Regions from separate parts of the Homo sapiens genome. Here all the other regions are linked to region 4. The links are contacts of gene promoters, found by promoter capture Hi-C in human tissues and cell types (Jung and others, 2019). All regions are on one chromosome and are shown on one strand. The core of a region is centred on a gene start or on the middle of the fragment in contact, and the rest is flanking DNA. Distances in the headings are between cores, read along the strand shown. Region 1 holds the start of FOXJ1 (forkhead box J1). Region 2 overlaps SRP68 (signal recognition particle 68). Region 3 overlaps RNF157 (ring finger protein 157). Region 4 holds the start of RHBDF2 (rhomboid 5 homolog 2).

Region 1 (2,868 bases), core at 206-2,705, 360 kb before region 4:
CGCACCGCAGAGCCTACTTGGCCTGCAGATTTGGGATATGAATCCAGTGCAGCGTGGGGAGCGAGGAGGGAATGGGGAGGGAGCGGCCGCCGCCCGTGCCTCCTCTACCTGCCAGGTGGGATCTGCGTGGCGGAAGTAGCAGAAGTTGTCCGTGATCCACTTGTAGATGGCCGACAGGGTGATCTTGGTGGCCTTGCTGGCCTGCATGGCCATGCAGATGAGCGTGGCATACGAGTAGGGAGGCTTCACGTGCGGATTGGTGGCGTAGTCCACGTCGTCGGGGGGTGGGGCCTGCAGCCCCGGGGGCGCGCTCCGCGACGTGCACGACGACGTGGGCTTGCCCGGCGTGTGTGGCTGCCCCAGGCAGGCGGGGTCGGCCGCCAGGGGGGACCCGGGCGCCGCTGAACCTGGCACCTGGTGGTAGCCGTGGGGGTCGGTGCCCCCCGGGGGCAGGGCGGGGGCCTTGGCGTTGAGAATGGAGAATTCCTGCAGCCACTGCAGGCTGGTCAGGCTGTCATCCAGGGCGTCGGGCTCCTCCAGGCCGCCCTCCGGCCCGGCCTCCTCCGCCGGCCCGGCTCCCGAGAGGCGCAGCCAGCTCTCCGCCATGTCTGCGGGGACTCTCCGAGGGGGCGGTCAGCATCCACGGGCTGAGCCGGGGGTGGCCCGCCGCGCTCTCTGGCCCGCTGAGTCCCGCAGCTCCCGTTACACGGCCTCCCGGACGCGCGCTTCCATCTCGCGACCCCGGGGGCGCCTCCTCCGAATAAGTATGTGGTGCCTGCGAGGACCACGGTGGGAGCTGAGCACTACCCCACCCCCGAGGGGACAGTGTGTGTACGGGGACGCCCTCTCTAACATCATCCCCGCAGCTGGGGAGGATCTTTTAGTGCCGAGGTATGGGAAACAGAAGCAAGGCCCTGGGGTCCCACCCCCATCAGATCTGCCTCCCTCTTCCTTTCCTCTTCGAGGTTTTATTAGCCAAATGAAGAGGGTAGGGGCATCCGAGGCTATCCTTTTCTCCCGAAGAGCAGGAAATCAGGACCCCCTTCCTCCTCGCAACAAATGGAAGTGGGGCGAGAAGTTTGGGAGGGCGGTACGACGGGGCGGGGGCGGTGGAGGTCCTCTGATCCTTGAAAAGGAATATTATGATAGGGGATCATTGGGAAGGAAGGGGACGGAACAGTAACGGGGGGCAGGAGGCGAGTTTCCCCCAGACTTCTCCGATGTCAGTCCCTGGGCCCACCACTTCCGTTAAGGACGAATGAGAGAGCGGGTTGGTACCGTTGCCCACCCTTCCCCCTGGCCTGCAGCCCTCCCCATCCCTTACCTGGCTCAGAGCGCAGCCCGGGCCAGAGGAAGGTTCTGGAAGAAGTTGCTCCCACCCCCTGCGGCTCTCTGCCCCCAGCTCGGGGGCCCTGCCAGCGCCTCTTGCCGCCCCCCCGCCCGACGGCGCTTCTCTGAGCTACCGCGGCCCCGGGACCGGCATTAAGTAGCCGCTCCAAAGGCTTCTCCTGCTGCCATGGCGACGCTCCGCCCCCATAAACAGCTTCCGCCTCTGCCATTGGCCAGCACGTCTCCAAGGAGACCGCGGGCACTTGCCACTCTCCCTGGCGGCAACTCTCTTCGAACTCCCTCCTTCTGCCGCCCTCTCCCGCGCCACCCAACCCCCTACCCGCCGCTAAGTCCCGGCTCGGCTCATTCCCGCCCGAGGGCCCCGCGCTGGGGTCGGAGAAGCGCGCGGCCTGCGGCACCGGGAACCGCTATGGATCCGTTCGTTCTGGGGAACCAAGACTCTCGCCCCCACCCCCTTCCTGTCCCGTACGCTTTGAGGCGTCGACTGCTCCTGGGACGGAGCCTGGGGTTGGGGGGCTAAGGCTGGGAGCGGGCTCAGGCTCGGGAACCGTATCCTTGAGGTTTTCTTTCCTCTCCGCTACGAGTGGCACTTTCTCATGTTTCTGCAGCCTTTCCCTCTCCCCCGACTCTTAGGGTCTTTCTCTGGTGTCCCAGGCAGGTCTGACTTTCCGATGCCACCTGCCGCTTACATCCACAGAGGCGGCAGACACACCAAGGGGGTAGGGTAATCCAGTGTGTCCCAGTAAGCAGCTCCTTCCCCACCCGTATCCTCGAGGTTCCAGGAAGCTGACATTCCAGAGGCTTCTGCAGAAGCGCACTCACTCCTCTGGAGACAGCTGATGAAGCAGAGCCCGTGGGTAAAACTCTGAAGTCATGGACTTGTCAAATTCTCCTAGCGGGGTCATTTGCCCAATTAATTTCACCAACCTTTAAGTCACAGGGATTAAGAGTAGAGGGACTCTGGGGACTGTGTCCCTTCCTCCTCCCTTCCCCTGGCCTCCCTCCTGTCACCAGCTTTCCTGCTCTTTAATTATTGAGGAGCTGCAGGGTTGGACGTTCTCCGGTTTAAGGCGGCTGCAGAGGCAGTGGTGGGGGCTGGGTTGATTACCCCGCCTCTGCCCAGGAGCTGGAGAGCCGGGGTCGGGGAGGCTGGTGCCCAGACCATGAAGAAGGCCCGGCTATGGCGCATCACTCCCCCGCCAACATGCCTTTCCCTAGCCCTTGCCTCTCCCACTCCTCCAACTCCAGATCCTCTTGAGTAAAAGTATTAAAGAGTGCTGGCGAAAGTCAGACAGAAACTTTCACAGATAAGCTCACTTTGCAGTTAGCTCTCCTTCCCTTGTAAACAGTTTTATTCATTTTTAAGAATCATGCAGCAATCCATAAATATTGCATTCTTGATGTCCCCACTGTAGTGTGACCACAAGTGTACTCCAGGGAGAGGGGTACACAGATGGCACAAGCAGTATACACATGCACACACCAGGTGTGCAGACCAAAGCAAAGTGAGCGACCAGC
Region 2 (3,157 bases), core at 194-2,693, 430 kb before region 4:
GCTTTACAGTTCCTAGACTGCATGCACGGATACCAGGGCATGCTGCTTCCCCCGACACAGAATGTTCTTCACTCTCACAAATCCTTCAAGGTCAAGCCTCCTCTGTGTGGGCTTACTGACTTCCCTGTCAAAAGCCTTCAAGCTCAAGTCTCCTTTCCAAGGCTTTAGAATGCTGAACAGTAAATGATATACAACATTGCACTTTTACTGTAGCATTCCCTGGTTTGCACTGACCAACATTTTCCAATAAGATGAAAGTCAATGAGGTTCAAGGACCATGCCTCCTCTCCTTCTATATCTAGTGTGTCACAACTACTCTGCTGATGTAGCACAAAGCAGCTCTAAACAATACCTATGTGAATGGGCGTGGCTGGGTTCCAATAAAACTTCATTTACACAAAAGGTGGCAGCAGCGTAATTTGGCCCGTAACTGTGAGGAAGACCCGGGGGCCTTGACTACATGTTGCCTGACAGACTAAAAATTCTTCAGCAAATGCCAAGCACTGGTGTATTCAGCACTGAAATACAAGACTCTTCTATAATAATTTACACACCAGCCTGGCGCAGTAGCTCACGTCTGTAATCCCAGCACTTTGGAAGGCAAGAGGTGGGTGGATCACCTGAGGTCAGGAGTTCAAGACAAGCCTGGCCAACATGGTGAAACCCTGTCTCTACTAAAAATACAAAACTCAGCTGGGCGTGGTGTCACGTGCCTGTAATCCCAGCTACTCCGGAGGCTGAGGCAGGAGAAGCTTGAACCCGGGAGGTGGAAGTTGCAGTGAGGTGAGACGACACCACTGCACTCCAACCTGGGCAACAGAGTGAGACTCCGTCTCAAAAAAAAAAAAAAACACACCACTCAACCACTCAATTTCATTAAGATATATTGATATATGCATCTAGTTTCAGACATTGAAATTTATATTCTAGAAACCTTACCTAATAATCAATTAGATTCTAATCACTGACTTCAACATTTGCCATCCCAACAGGTTTTTTTTTTTTTTTTTTGGTTTTAAAAAGCAGAGTTTAATAGGCAAGAAGGGAGAAGAAGCTTCCCTGTACAGAGACAGAGGAAGGGGGGCTCCAAAGCTGAGACAGTGAATCTCACCCCCTCCTTTTTTTTTTTTTGAGATGGAGTGTCACTCTTGTTGCCCAGGCTGAAGTGCAATGGTGTGATCTTGGCTCACTGCAACCTCTGCCTCCCGGGTTCAAGTAATTCTTGTGCCTCAGCCTCCTGAGTAGCTGGGATTACAGGCGCCTGCCACCATGCCCGGGTAATTTTTATATTTTTAGTAAAGTAGGGGTTTTGCCATGTTGGCCAGGCTGGTCTTGAACTCCTGACCTCAGGTGATCCACCCACCTTGGCCTCCCAACGTGCTGGGATTATAGGCGTGAACCACTGCACCTGGCCCCAACACAGTTCTTGAACAACCTAATGTATCTCTTTGAGCCTCAGTTTCCTTGCCTTAGAACACAGGAATAGTAAACAATGCCCAGCCCACAGAGATAATTAAAAGGTTTGGCATGAAGTCTACCACGTCATTGTTCAATAAATGTATTAGCAAGAAGTAATTTGCAACTAGCATGGAGCAGTCAATACCTATTATCGGTCAGAAGCTCTTCAGTCACTTTCTTCCCTGTGAATTTGTGTCTGTTACCCATCTTGAAGTTGAGTGTTTTTCGAAGACGTCTTTGTCTACGGGAACAGTAGCCCCTGTAAGAAACCACAAACAAAACTCACTCAGCCAAGCTGAGAGTATTTTGAATAATAAATTCTGCAATAAGGCAAGGTCAAGGGTCAATGGTTTGGGATATTATACTTATGGTTACTAGAATTATCACATATCAGCTTCCAAACATTTTTTTCTTTTCTTTGAGACAGAGTCTGGCTCTGTCACCCAGGCTGGAGTGCAGTGGTGTGATCTTGGCTCACTGCAGCCAGGCTCAGTCAATCCTCCCACCTCAGCCTCCTGGGTAGATGTGACCAACAGAGGTGTACCACCACACATGGCTAATTTTTGTACTTTTTGTAGAGACAGGGTTTCACTATGTCACCCAGGCTGGTCTCGAAATCCTTGGACTCCAGCAATCCGCCCACCCCAGCCTTCCAAAGTGCTGGGATTACAGGCATGAGCCACCATACCCGGCCCTAAACATTTATTGAACAACTAAAACATGGAGGGCAATATGATTGGTATTATAGGAAACACAAAGAGATGGAGGACACAGTGCCCATGTTCAAGGAACCCACATTAAAATTGAGTAGAATCATGCAGAGAAAATGGCAACCAAGAAAACAAGGCAAATGTCAAGTTGAAAGGACATGGGTAATCATTCTCTTGTTAGCACCTTCAGCTGCAGTGGACTGATGGCGGGGCCTAGAAAGAATGAGGGGCTGGGTGCAGTGGCTCACACCTGTAATCCCAGCACTTTGGGAGGCCGAGGTGGGCGGATCACTTGATGTCAAGAGTTCGAGACCAGCCTGCCCAACATGCAGAAACCCCGTCTCTACTAAAAATACAAAATTAGCCAGTTGTGGTGGCACATGCCTGTAATCCCAGCCTACTCGGGAGGATGAGGCAGGACATTCGCTTAAACTCAGGAGGTGGGGGTTGCGTTGAGCCAAGATTGCGCCATTGCACTTCAGCCTGGGCAACAACAGTAAAACTCCGTCTCGAAAAAAAAAAAAATTAGCCAGGCATGGCGGGCGGGCGCCTATAATTCTAGCTACTCGGGAGGCTGAGGCAGAGAACTGCTTAAACCCGGGAGGTGGAGGTTGCAGTGAGCCGAGAACACGCCATTGCACTCCAGCCTAGGCAACAGAGCAAGACTGTGTCTGAAAAAAAAAAAAAAAAAGAAGAAGAAGAAGAATGAGGAGGATTCTAATAAATGTAAAGAAAGCAGGGAAAGGGGCATCCTGAGGAAGACTAAGATGACACCAAACATATGGAGAAAGAACTGCAGGCAGGTCTGAAGAAAAGTGAGGAAGCCAATTAGGTTATCGCCAAGAAGCACTACAAATGTCACCTCTATGCCAAGCCTCCTCCTCTATGCTCATGTAGCTCTTTATTCTTCCTTCTATTACAGTGTGTGACATTATAATTATGTTCTCACATAGTTGTCCACTAATATAAATCCCTTTAGTGCAGGGAGA
Region 3 (2,890 bases), core at 102-2,601, 320 kb before region 4:
AAAATAAATGACTTTGGGATTAAAATTTTTTTCTGGAGTAGCAAAGTTAATCATTTTCATTTGTACAGGTACTTGGGCGTTATCCATAACTCCTACCTGCATTTCAAAAAAAAGATGCGTCTTTTCCCTTATTCTTTACTCTTTCTCCTCCATAGCCACTCCCTGCCGCAAAAGAGAGAAAAATAAAAAGAAAGAAAAAAAAATCCTGGCACTCTTTATCCTCCATTTTGAATATATTTGATGATAACTGTGGCAATGAAACATAAGCTATTTGGCTCTTAAGGAAAGGTATCAATGAGTTCAATTGTTTATAAATCCACCCCTATACTTTAGGCTCTCCCTGTACACACACATACACGCACAAGACAACAACGGCAAATCTGTTCAGGAGAAGCTTGTTCGTGGGCTGCTACCCACCAAAGTTTGTGCCTTGCTGGCCTTGCATTCATGCAATCAGAGTCTACATGCAACACTCCATGCCAGGAGTAAGGAGAGATTGAAAACCAAGAAGATAAGGCCCTGCTCTTTCAGGAAGCTGCATTATAAGGCAGCTGACATAGTAATTGTAATATCAAAGAGATTAAATATATGGATATTTTTTTGCCACAAAAGGCAAAAATAAAGGAAGTGATCATTTCTGGCTGAGGTAATCTGAAGGCTTCATGGAGGAGTTGGTAGTTGATCTGGGATCCTAAAGGATAAATGAAATTTGCAAATTCAGAGATAACAGAGAAGATGGAGGGGACAGTAGGATCAGAGGCAAATTAAAAAAAATTTTTTTTCTGCTCTTAGAGTTGTCTCCCATTCTTCTGTAAATCGATTTTGCCTACTATTACTCTCGAAATTTCTTAGTGAGTTATCTTCCTTTCAAAAATTACCATTTATTGAGTGCTTACTATTGATGACAGTGGTGGGCTGTCCAGAGCAGCCGCTGCCATCACAACGGCTGCTGCAGGGGGGTCGCAGGGAGCAGACAGACAGCCCCTCCACAGCTTGCCGCCCTGGAGGCCACCCCATGGGGCTGGCCGGGTTACCCACCAGCAGAGGAGCAGCGTGGCAGAAGAGCAGCGCGGTAGGGCAAAGAGGAGCCCCGAGGCGGAGCTGGGCCTTGGCCAGTGTCCCGCTTGCTCATGGAGCGCCAGGGCCAGGCCTGGGCGCGGAGCTGGGGCCATGCTTCAGGGGCCCCGGGCAGGAAGTGGGAGCAGCTTCCGCTTCGGGCACCTGGCCATTGGCGCAGCCACTGTGCCCACCCTGCCGAGGGTGCCAGGTTCCTGTGCCTCGGGAGGAGGTTCTGCGCAGCCCGTCTGGGGCTGCGCCCCCAGGTCTGCCCCACATTGGGGTGACCACTGAGCCTGACACTCCTGGGCAGATGGCCTGGCCCAGGCCCAGGCCCAGGATCCACTCTGTCCCAGACTGCCCGTGAAGCACCGGGGGAACAGGCAGAGCTCATGGCGATGTCACCCTGCCCTGGACACTGGCCCCGGCCCTGGCCCCGGCCCAGTGAGGACCTGGAGCCCCTGCCCCAGGCTGCAAGGGGGTGCTGCAGGGGCTGCATGCTCCACAGAGCCGGTGGAAGCCAGGAACAGGCAGCAGCCCCGCCTTGGGCTGTGGATCGGGGGCCTCCATAAGCTCTTGGAGACACGGAAAAGCCCTCCCACCCCCCCGCCCCAGCAGGCTCGGAAGTGCCTGCTCCTGCCGCCTAGCTTCTGCTTGCTCTTGGTGCTGGCTCTGATCTTAGAGCAGTGTGGGGCCAAGCCAAGGTGCTGTTGCAGCCAGGCTAGGAGTGCACATGCTCGGGGTAGCGCTGACAAGCCAGCCCCCTGCTGCCTCGGCCCCTTCCAGACTTTGGGCACTGATGAGCATGAGGGAAGGGGAAGGGGGAGAGGCGAGGGGGTGCTGAGGGCAGCTTGGTGCTGGCCTTCAGGGAGGACGTGAAGGCTGGGGGCCTGGCTGCCAGTCCCGCCCACTGGAGTGGGAACTTGTGTTGCCTTTTCTAGGCCTGCCCATGGATGCCCAGGGACCAGTCTACCTGCACTTCCTCCCCTCTGAGGCCCATAAAAGGCCCAGGCTCAGCCAGAACAGAGCAGAGGTTGGGACCACCAGCTGCAGAGAGGAGCAACCTACTCCAGTGCCTCCTCTCTGCTGATAGCTGCAGAGATGTCCATAAGACCAGCTGCAGAGAGGAGCTACGCACTCCAGGGCCTCCTCTCTGCTGAGAGCTGCAGAGAAGACAGGATGACCTTCCTGCGGAAAAGAGCTTCCCACTCCAGGGTCTCTATGCTAGGACACTTGTCAGGACACCCTGGCTGCGGAAAGAGCTACCCACTGCGGGTATCCTCTGAGCTGTTCCAAGGCTCAATAAGGCTCCTCTTCGTCTTGCTCACCCTATGTTTGTCTGTGTATCTCATTCTTCCTTGTTGCAGGACAAGAATTTTGGACCCATGGAATGGTGGGACTAAAAGAGCTGTAACACAAACAGGACTGAAACATGCTCCTTGCTTGTCATGTTGCAGGCAAAGAGGAGAGAAGAGCTGTGGCCCGTCGGGGAGCCCAGACCTGGGAGCTGCCCAAGCCAGGGCTATGACTTCCTCTTTGTGGCCCTGTAGTTCCTGGCATCTCCAAGCTTCCGGGTGCCACCACATTCCCTGGTGCCAACCGGGAGAGCTGCTTGCAGTGCACCTGGTCCAGCCACAGCCTCGCAGACAGCTGGCACCTATACTGGCACCTGGGGCTGCCAGCCCCACAGCGGCAGCTGGCGTGTCTGACTGCACAGTGGCCGGACCCCACTCTCGCTCACACACCCCTTGCTGCTCCATGCCTGACTTGCAGTCTCCCTTGGAGGCGTGGGATATAGGCTGGTAGTGTGAGCTGAGTGCAGCCTGTCAGGCCA
Region 4 (3,100 bases), core at 163-2,662:
GGAATAAGTGCCCTCACACTGCCTTACCCCTCATCTCATTCAGGTTTATTCCAAGTTCCTCCCCTAACCACTCTGGAAAACTGAGGTAGTTTCCCCAGTGAGGGAGCATCATTGAGAAGGAACCTGATGGACCAGCTGCTGCGCAGGGTTTCTCAGCCTCAGCACAGCCCAACACCTTGGGCTGGATAATTCCTCGTTATGTGGGCTGTTCCGTGCCCTGAAGATGTCTGGTAGCGTCCCTGGCCTCTACCCACTACCTGCCAGTAACAACAACACTCACTTCCCCTCCCAAGTGTGTGACACCCAAAATGACTCCAACATTGCCAAATATCCCATGGCAGGCAAAGTCGCCCCTGGTTGAGAACCACAGCTCTAAAACACGCCTCCCTTTCCACTGCCTGCCCTACGGACAGTGAGGGTCGAATAAGGCAGATGCTGGTCTCATTATATTACCAGCAAATGGCACACACTGGGGGCCTGATGCCAGCCGCCCAGGCAACAGCAGCCTCTCCCCAAGTGGGGTCAGCTCCCCACCGCCTTCTGCTCCTCAGACACACCCGCTGCCACCCTCTCAGTAGCTCCAACCCTAGAGCCCCCTCCGTTAATCTTTCATGGAATGGGGCAGGGCCAAAACCTAGGCTTCCTTTGCGCCCTGGCGTGGGAGTGGGGCGGGGTCTGTACCCTAGGGAACTTATCCGTCTCTATCCCAATGCCCTGGGGGAACATCCGAGGGGCCAAACAGGTAAAAGGCAAGCCCAGGGCCAACCTTCCCCAGCCCCTCCATCCAGAAGTCAGGACTCCTGGGTCCAATTTCTGAGCTCCGGTCCAGCCCTGCTGTGTGAGTCCCTCATCCCCACCCCCGCACCTGTTTCCACCTTGGCTGGCTCAACCAACAAACTTCGGCCCCGGTCCGCCCGGTGCTCACCCGGGAGAAAGTGGAGGGGAGAGAAGGGTCTGAACTGCAGGCACTTCTGGGACGCAGGCGGGACTGCCCTGCGCAGTCTCCTCTCTTCCTCCGGAGGTTTAAATCTCTGCCCAATCGTCTTGCCCCTACATCTGGCGCCCCGTCGCCCAGGGACCCCTTAGGCGTCCTGTCCGAGCCGAGCCCTAGGGGCCAGCAGACCGGGTCCAGCGGCCCCGCCGGCGCCGTCTGAGCCAGCCCGGGCCTCCAGCCGAGCCCACGTGGGACCCAGGCGCTCCGCAGGGCGGGCACCGGGCACTGGGCACCCTTCCTGGCCGCGCACCACCGCTCCAGGGCAGGCTCGGGCACAACCTCGGGACCCTTCCGGCGCCTGCGGCTGGGCGGCCGTGAGTCCTGCCCCGCTCGTCGCCCCGCGCTCACCTCCCTGCGGCCCCAAGTCCCCGGGACGCAACTCCGTGCGGCGCCTGCGAGCGGCTGGGCGGTGGCTCCTCGGGGGCGGGGCGGCGGCGCTCCGCCTCTTCCCTACCTGCGCGCGGGCGGCCGGGAGGCGGGGCTGGGCTCCAGGGGGCGTGGCCGGGCTCATGGGGGCGGGGCCTGGACGCAGTCTTTGCTCAGTCGGCTTCCTGGGTTCCTGCCTCCGCCCTCCACCCAGCTGGGTCCCCGCCTGGGCAGAGCCCTGTTTTCGCCTGAGCTGGTCTCTTCAGGGCGCCGTCCTTTCCCTCTTGGCGTCCTCACTCCACCCCAGACCAAACACGTCATCTAGGTCTTGATTGCCGTCTTCAAGTCGCCCCTCCCCATCAAGAAAAAGCACCCAATCTCCCATCCCCTTCTTCCAGCGCCCTCATCCTCAGGCCAAGTGGGCCTGTTCCCTTGACCCTTTTAGTCTGTAGTCACACTCTCTCCGGGAAGCTGGGCCTGAACACCTCCTCTCCCTCCTGGACCCTGAGGCCTCTCTCCTAGCTCTGCTGTGCCCTTGGGTTGGGAACAGGCACTCCGTGGAGGTCCTATCTGCATTTGCCCTGCAGCTAAGGCCAACATTTGTGACTCCTGCCAACCCCCTACACACCCCGTAGAAGCATTGACAGAACCCACCCAGCTCTGGCCCTTCCAGCTGCCATGCGGGCCAGAGCCAGACTGGAGATTGGGGACGCTGGCGACACCTGGCCCCTTGGCTTGGGTCTGTCTGCCCAGGTGGTTCCTTCTCTCTTCCCTGGACTCCAAGGGCCTGCCTCTTGGGACTAGACAAACAAAACCTTGGCCAGGGCAGCTAGGACCGAACTCCAAGGTCTGGATGCCCCGTTCTCAGCCCCAGCGCTTATCATCTCGCCGTCCCTCTCCAGGAGGCCTGGCTAGGCCAGGAGGAGCAGAGTTTGAAGAGACTCAGGCTTGGAGGGGTGGGGGTGGGGTTGTCAGGGCCAAGGCAAAACCTCTGGCCCTTAGAGAGCTCCTGAGCCACCCTGCCCCCCAACCCAAGGACTCTGGTGTTTATTGCTGACCTGGGTGGAGGTGGGGAGCACCTGGCTGCTGGAGATTATCCTGAGAGATGCATCTCTCCTCCCCAGCTCTGGGGCCATGAGGAGGGCACAGGCTGGAAGGAGGGGGAGTGGGCCAAAGCTGGGGTGGGGGTTGCTCCTAGTAACAAATGTAAGGGACCATTTATTGTGCAACCAGCACATCCTGGGGTTATGTGCAGAGAGGAACAAAACCAGGGCCTGCCCACGAAGTGCCAGCATTCTACAGGGAGACGTTGGAACTCAATACTGTAACAGGAAGGGTGAGAGCAGCTAGCCATTCCAAAGTGCTTTAGTCTGTATAATCCGCAGTACAGGTCTATGAAGTGGGTACCATTATGATCATCCCCATTTTAGGGATGAGAAAACTGAGGCAGAGGGAGATGTGAGGGGAGCAGCTGGGGTTTAAACTCGGTCATGATCTGACTTTAGACTCTAACAAACACTGCTGCAAATGCCTGAGCTGGGTTCTCTCTCCTGGAGCTCTACTGGAAGCTCTGCAGGAGTCCCCAGGAGGGGAGGGATTCATGGTGGTGCTTAAGCTGGTGTCAGGGATTTGTCCCATGCAAACATGGCGTGCTGCCCGGCCACATAGGTGCAGGGAGGCTGATTACAGCCTTGGCTGCAGCAACACGCACCTGTGAGGCCAGAGAGGGAAGAATGTTAA

The links. Contacts are between HindIII fragments. The study calls those that stand out against the background at their distance.
Region 1: the fragment with the promoter of FOXJ1 here is called in contact with the fragment with the promoter of RHBDF2 in region 4 in 1 of the 25 tissues and cell types used here (heart left ventricle).
Region 2: a fragment that was not itself captured here is called in contact with the fragment with the promoter of RHBDF2 in region 4 in 1 of the 25 tissues and cell types used here (adrenal gland).
Region 3: a contact is called between a fragment that was not itself captured here and the fragment with the promoter of RHBDF2 in region 4, in 2 of the 25 tissues and cell types used here (adrenal gland and dorsolateral prefrontal cortex).

What each region holds. Positions count from the first base shown.
Region 1 is chr17:76,139,790-76,142,657 of GRCh38, forward strand. FOXJ1 (forkhead box J1) reads right to left here and starts at 1,456. Exons shown (of 3, transcript NM_001454.4): 1 at 1,325-1,456; 2 at 109-775. The coding sequence starts at 606. It overlaps RNF157 (ring finger protein 157), which reads right to left. Exons shown (of 19, transcript NM_052916.3): 19 at 2,685-2,868. RNF157-AS1 (RNF157 antisense RNA 1) reads left to right here and starts at 767. Exons shown (of 8, transcript NR_040017.1): 1 at 767-891. RefSeq lists silencers at 294-483, 544-613, 1,292-1,451. The HindIII fragment of the contact is 16,722 bases long and covers 1-2,868 here.
Region 2 is chr17:76,065,614-76,068,770 of GRCh38, forward strand. SRP68 (signal recognition particle 68) reads right to left here. Exons shown (of 16, transcript NM_014230.4): 3 at 1,604-1,717. Among named protein-coding and RNA genes, the nearest start is that of SRP68, 5.3 kb to the right of the region's middle. The HindIII fragment of the contact is 4,397 bases long and covers 1-3,157 here.
Region 3 is chr17:76,175,652-76,178,541 of GRCh38, forward strand. All of the region lies in intron 2 of RNF157 (ring finger protein 157), which reads right to left. Among named protein-coding and RNA genes, the nearest start is that of FOXJ1, 36 kb to the left of the region's middle. The HindIII fragment of the contact is 4,379 bases long and covers 1-2,890 here.
Region 4 is chr17:76,500,011-76,503,110 of GRCh38, forward strand. RHBDF2 (rhomboid 5 homolog 2) reads right to left here and starts at 1,413. Exons shown (of 19, transcript NM_001005498.4): 1 at 1,343-1,413. RefSeq lists enhancers at 671-1,340, 1,691-1,830 and a silencer at 1,001-1,640. The HindIII fragment of the contact is 32,589 bases long and covers 1-3,100 here.